Regions from separate parts of the Homo sapiens genome. Here region 1 is linked to region 2. Evidence: promoter capture Hi-C in human tissues and cell types (Jung and others, 2019). All regions are on one chromosome and are shown on one strand. Each heading gives the region's core, a stretch centred on a gene start or on the middle of the fragment in contact. The rest is flanking DNA. Distances are from core to core; before and after follow the strand shown.

The links. The method cuts DNA at HindIII sites, captures the fragments that hold promoters and counts their contacts. A contact is called where the count stands out against the background at its distance.
Region 1: a contact is called between a fragment that was not itself captured here and the fragment with the promoter of BCL2L1 in region 2, in 1 of the 25 tissues and cell types used here (mesenchymal stem cells).

The regions. Positions count from the first base shown.
Region 1 is chr20:31,757,551-31,760,479 of GRCh38, forward strand. It overlaps TPX2 (TPX2 microtubule nucleation factor), which reads left to right. Exons shown (of 18, transcript NM_012112.5): 3 at 1-32; 4 at 2,507-2,629. Among named protein-coding and RNA genes, the nearest start is that of TPX2, 20 kb to the left of the region's middle. The HindIII fragment of the contact is 7,137 bases long and covers 1-2,929 here.
Region 2 is chr20:31,721,195-31,724,169 of GRCh38, forward strand. BCL2L1 (BCL2 like 1) reads right to left here and starts at 1,674. Exons shown (of 3, transcript NM_138578.3): 1 at 1,424-1,674; 2 at 461-1,154. The coding sequence starts at 1,024. RefSeq lists enhancers at 1,293-2,048, 1,983-2,042, 2,049-2,803, 2,573-2,772 and silencers at 1,413-1,532, 1,583-1,692, 1,592-1,886, 2,093-2,542. The HindIII fragment of the contact is 4,180 bases long and covers 161-2,975 here.

The DNA.
Region 1 (2,929 bases), core at 201-2,700, 36 kb after region 2:
AGGAGATACTCAAAACATAGATTCATGGTTTGGTAAGTGCCTGCTTTCTCTGGCTATTTTAAGGATTAGTGGCTTGCTTTGTGCTGAAGACCTTTCAATAATAGAAGGGGTTGCAAGAAAAGAACTAAAATATCAACTTCTTTCTGCACCAAGACATTCTGTCATCCATGATATTATGGGAATAATTGAAATGCCCAGTATTTGGGGAATGGATTGTAAGTACAAAGCATATGTTGTTTTGTAGTTCAGAATGGCAGATTTAAGCTTTAGGGACCTATGGGAAAGTTCAGATGAACCAGTGTTCAACAAAACTCCATGCTCAAATATGTCTGTAGTGATGGCAGCCACATAAAAACTTTGTCTACTATCATTAGGGATAGATTATATCACAGCTAGGATATTGACATTCATACAATCTACCAGTTTTACTCAGATTTCTCCAGTTTTACTTGTATGTGTATTAAGTTCTCTGTGGTTTTATCACCTGTGTTGGTTTATGTGTCTACCATCACAGTCAAGATCTTTTATAATTACCCTCACCTCCCTCCTGCCACCCCTCCCTCAATTCATTTTTTTTTTTTTTTTTTTTGAGGCTGTAGTCTCGCTCTGTTGCCCAGGCTGGAGTGCAGTGGTACAATCTCAGCTCACTGTAACCTCCGCCACTCTTGTTCAAGCGGTTCTGCCTCAGCCGCCCAAGTAGCTGGGATTACAGGCGCCCACCAGCATGCCTAACTAATTTTTGTATTTTTAGTAGAGACAGTGTTTTGCCATGTTGGCCAGGCTAGTCTTGAACCCCTGACCTCAGGTGATCCACCCACCTCAGCCTCCCAAAGTGCTGGGATTACAGGCGTGAGCCACTGCGCCTGGCCCTCAATTCATTTTTAAATGGAAGGATTATGCTACTAAGAACCCATTCCCAGAAACAGTATTGCTTGGCCAATGGTAAGTAAGAATGTGGTTACATTTTTACATTACTTTGAAATAATATCTGAGACTAGTTGTTGAGGCCCCTTTGATTCTTTCTCTCATGTCTCCATCCTCCTTATCGGGAGAAATCACTATGAATATGTGGTGGGGAACAGAAGTGAGTCCATTGCAGCTGTACTTATCCGTATAGTGCACTGTCCAAATGTGTTGACAGGTGCCATTTTTTGGAAAAGGACTTTAATGGCATCTAGTGGGGATCCTGAGAGGAGTCGTCTGTTGGAAGTGGTGTGGGAGGAAGGGTAAATAAATACAAGGGCCAGCTGTCCTGCGGGGATCTTCCCCATGCCCTTGCTTCACTGGAACTGTAAGGAAATGGCTGGGCTGTCTGAGGATTTCTTTTTCTAAGCTTTTCTTTAAAATAAAAAAGAAAAGAAAAGATTAGCCTAAGAATACTGTTAAATACAATTTGGAAGAAAAAAAATGACCCCACTATTTTTCCAAAACTACCTTAGTTTTAAAACATTTTTATTTTTTTTTCTTTTTGTTTTTGCCAGAGTTCTTTTGGCTAACAAAACTACCTCAGTTTTAATATATTACTTTCCAATTTCTTTCCCAAATAAATAGTCACATCTTTCTACACAGTTGCAATCAGAATGTACATGCACAGGGTAGTTATTGCTGTGTCTCACTGCATTCCTGAAACTATCAGTAGGCTGTTGGTAGAACAGACCCTTCACTGCTTTGTACTGACTTCTGGGCACAGTAGAATCTAAGATAAAATTTCTTGAGAGAACCTAGCTCTGCTCTACCCTCACACACCCCTTATTCCTCCCACCACCCCACTGAGGAGGAAACTCTGTAAGACTATACAGTATCTCTTGTAAGCCCTACAGTTTTTGATGGTTACAGTTTTCTTTCGTTTTTTTTTTTTTTTTTTTTTTGAGATGGAGTCTTGCTCTGTCGCCAGGCTGTAGTGCAGTGGTGCGGTCTCAGCTTACTGCAAATTCCACCTTCCAGGTTCAAGCGATTCCCCTGCCTCAGCTTCTCAAGTAGCTGGGATTAAAGGCATGTGCCACCACGCCTGGCTAATTTTTTGTATTTTAGTAGAGACGGGGTTTCACCATGTTGGCCAAGACAGTCTCGATCTCCTGACCTCATGACCCACCCGCCTCGGCCTCCCAAAGTGCTGGGATTACAGGTGTGAGCCATCGCTCCCGGCTGGTTACAGTTTTCTTTAAGAGGAACATGATATATTTAGGGAGTAGATAAAGCCAGTTCATATTTGTATGACCCTAAATGTGTACCAAACAAAGATAAGGAGTTATTCACAATGCAGAATCTGTACTTTTCCTTTTTTATAATACATTGTTCAATGTTGCCAGTTTTTAGTGATTGTTCTTATAGTCTATCTCGGATGTGTAATGTGTACTTTTTCTTTTGATTGCTAGAACTTTGCTTGTACTTGCCACATGAGTTGGAAGTGTACTGGTAGGGAGCTTTAGTTTGCATTTTAAATGCGTGATAGTGATTTGTTTTGCTTCCTTGCTGATCAGACAATGATGATCTTCCCTTTTCACAGAGGAGAAGGCCAATTTGGAGAATAAGTTACTGGGGAAGAATGGAACTGGAGGGCTTTTTCAGGGCAAAACTCCTTTGAGAAAGGCTAATCTTCAGCAAGCTATTGTCACACCTTTGAAACCAGGTAAGAAAACATCTTAGAAAAAAGCTCCTTGATAGAATGGTGGGACAGTGTTTTAGAAGCCTGAGGTTCTGGGAAAATTACCTAAATGCTCTATCTCTTTGTTTATTATTGGTGAAATGGGCTAATTCATTTCATGATAAATGTAAAACTAATGATGTGCTACACTTAAAAAAAAATCTCTTGGAGCTTAAGCTAACATAGAATTTTTTTTTTTTTTTCTTTAAGATGGGGTCTGGTTCTGTCACCCAGGCTGGTGGAGTACAGTGGCACAGTCATAGCTCACTGCAGCCTCAAACTCCT
Region 2 (2,975 bases), core at 424-2,923:
GCCCAGGATAGGACTGAGACCCCTTGGGGGGAACAGATGGAGAGGTCTGTGGGTCATTGATGCTCATCATCTTCTCCAGGCATTATACTCATCACCCCTTTGTGTGTGAACCATTGTATAAGGTAAGGGAAACACCGAACTAACTTCCTACCCTCACAGGTTTGGGACTTAATGAACACATAGGCTACAGTTTTCTTTGCTGAGAAACTGGAACACAAGTATGGAATAGTGGAGTCATGGGGGTGACCAGGGTGAAAGATGCCTGATCTCTGAAGCACAGGGTCATTTGTATTTCCAAGGAGTTAACCTCTTGTGGTGAAATGAGGCCAGTCAGGTTTCCTCAACTATCAACGTCTCCAACAATCACCCAACACAACAGAAAGAGATACAGAAGAAGGGCTGTTGGGGATCTCTGACCAGAGGCCAAAGAAAAGGGACACACAAGGGGCTTGGTTCTTACCCAGCCGCCGTTCTCCTGGATCCAAGGCTCTAGGTGGTCATTCAGGTAAGTGGCCATCCAAGCTGCGATCCGACTCACCAATACCTGCATCTCCTTGTCTACGCTTTCCACGCACAGTGCCCCGCCGAAGGAGAAAAAGGCCACAATGCGACCCCAGTTTACCCCATCCCGGAAGAGTTCATTCACTACCTGTTCAAAGCTCTGATATGCTGTCCCTGGGGTGATGTGGAGCTGGGATGTCAGGTCACTGAATGCCCGCCGGTACCGCAGTTCAAACTCGTCGCCTGCCTCCCTCAGCGCTTGCTTTACTGCTGCCATGGGGATCACCTCCCGGGCATCCAAACTGCTGCTGTGGCCAGTGGCTCCATTCACCGCGGGGCTGTCTGCCAGGTGCCAGGATGGGTTGCCATTGATGGCACTGGGGGTCTCCATCTCCGATTCAGTCCCTTCTGGGGCCTCAGTCCTGTTCTCTTCCACATCACTAAACTGACTCCAGCTGTATCCTTTCTGGGAAAGCTTGTAGGAGAGAAAGTCAACCACCAGCTCCCGGTTGCTCTGAGACATTTTTATAATAGGGATGGGCTCAACCAGTCCATTGTCCAAAACACCTGCTCACTCACTGAGTCTCGTCTCTGGTTAGTGATTCTCTTCTAAGATCCAAAGCCAAGATAAGATTCTGAAGGGAGAGAAAGAGCTTCAGGAAAAAAAAATAATTAATATGCATGCCATTTACCCTAAAAATTCCATTCCCCCTCCAGGTACCAGAACTGGTTTCTTTGTGGGTCTTACGAAGGTCTGGGTCTAGGTTCCAAGATACTTCACTTAAGTCAAATCGAAAGCACCAGTGGACTCTGAATCTCCCACCAGCCTTTTCTACCCCCGTCTTCTCCGAAATGCCTTCCTCGGAAAGTCACTCCCTGGGCAGTCCCCCCCGCCCCACTCCCGCTCCCCCGCACCACCTACATTCAAATCCGCCTTAGGCAAAGGCAGGCAGGTGCAGCCCCCGGAAGATCTTTTGTATCACAGGTCGGGAGAGGAGGTGGCTGCGGGGATGCCGGTAACTCAGCCGGCCTCGCGGTGGCTGGCAAAAAAACCAGCTCCGGCCGGAGGGATCATGCGACCCGGCAGGCTGGGAGCCCAGAAGGCGACACAGGAATTGCGAAGCTCAGGAACCAGCCCCCTCGCTTGCTTCCTCCTCCATCGCCCGGATCGAGGGCGGCCGCTCCGCAGCCGCGGCCTCCTGCCACCCGGGAGCCCAGCCCCCTCTCTCTTGCACGCCCCTTGGCTCTCCGCCTCCTACTGGGAGCCAGGAGTACTCTCCCGGAGGTGGCTGGTATGGATTTAGTTGGTTTTTGTTTTTCTTTTTTCTATTTAAGCACCAGCCCAGGGTGAGGTGGAGGCGTCCGAAACCCTAAAGGGACTTCTCAATGGGGTTCAAGGTTTCAGTGAGGGACGCAGGGAGGGGGAAACTGCCTCAGATCTGCAATCTGACTTTGGGAAGGCCACCCCCAGGCCTGTCTGTGATGTTGAAGGCCGGAGACCCCCAACAAATGCCGCTGGTTTGCTCTGAATTCCCCAAAGGCCCAGAACGTGGCAGTTGGGGATTGCCGGGTCCTCCATTCCCCGCCCGGACACAATGGCCGCCGGCGCCCTGCACAAAGACTGGGTGAGGGTGAGGCGCTGGGCCTCTCCTCAGGTCAGGAAGAGGGGTCGAGGCCTGCTCGACGGCCCCACAGCTGAGACCACGTTTTCCTGGGGACAGGCCCAAAGTGGCTTTCTGGCGCCCCCGGGAGGGCTCCGGGGCCGGGGGCTGCACCTCTCCGGAGCCCAGGGTGGGCCGGCTGCGGCCTAGCGGCTTCTCGAGCTCACTAGGCCGGGTACCCGCCGAGCCACCGCCCCGTTGCTAGGCAACCGCCCTCCCCCGGGGGCGCCCCCTAGACCTTCCTGAGAGGAGGGGCCTCGCCCCCGGCGGTCCGCCCCAGCGCAGCCAATCAGCGAGCCCAGCCGGCACGGAAGCGGGACGGCGAAGGCTCCTATTGGGCGCAACGGCTGTCACGCACAGGGGAGGCGGCGCTCTCACCTGCGAGCCCCGCGAGCCGTGGGGGGCCACATCCCCCTTCATCGGCCCGGTAGCTTCCAGACGCAAGAGCTCTTCGCGGCCGAGTTCCGCGCCGCGGACCCGGGCCGGCCTACCTGGCTGCCGGCCTACCTGGCTGACTGCTCGCGCCGTCTCTCCCGAACAAGCCGGCCTCAGTTTCCCCTGAAGAGACAGGGGAACTTGCAAGCTCAGTCACTTCCGGTGCCGCGGCAACGCGCGCGAGCCCGAGACGCAAAGGGAGTGCGCGCCTTGAGTGACTGGCATCAGGACCGGGGAGAGATCGCCCCCTCGCGGTAGATCTGGGGAATCGGGAGGCGCAAAAAATCAACATTTATAATCACATTTCCATTTATTCATTCAGTCAGTCAGTCAGTCACTCATCAGTCAATCAGCCTATTTCATCCGTCCGTCAGTTTA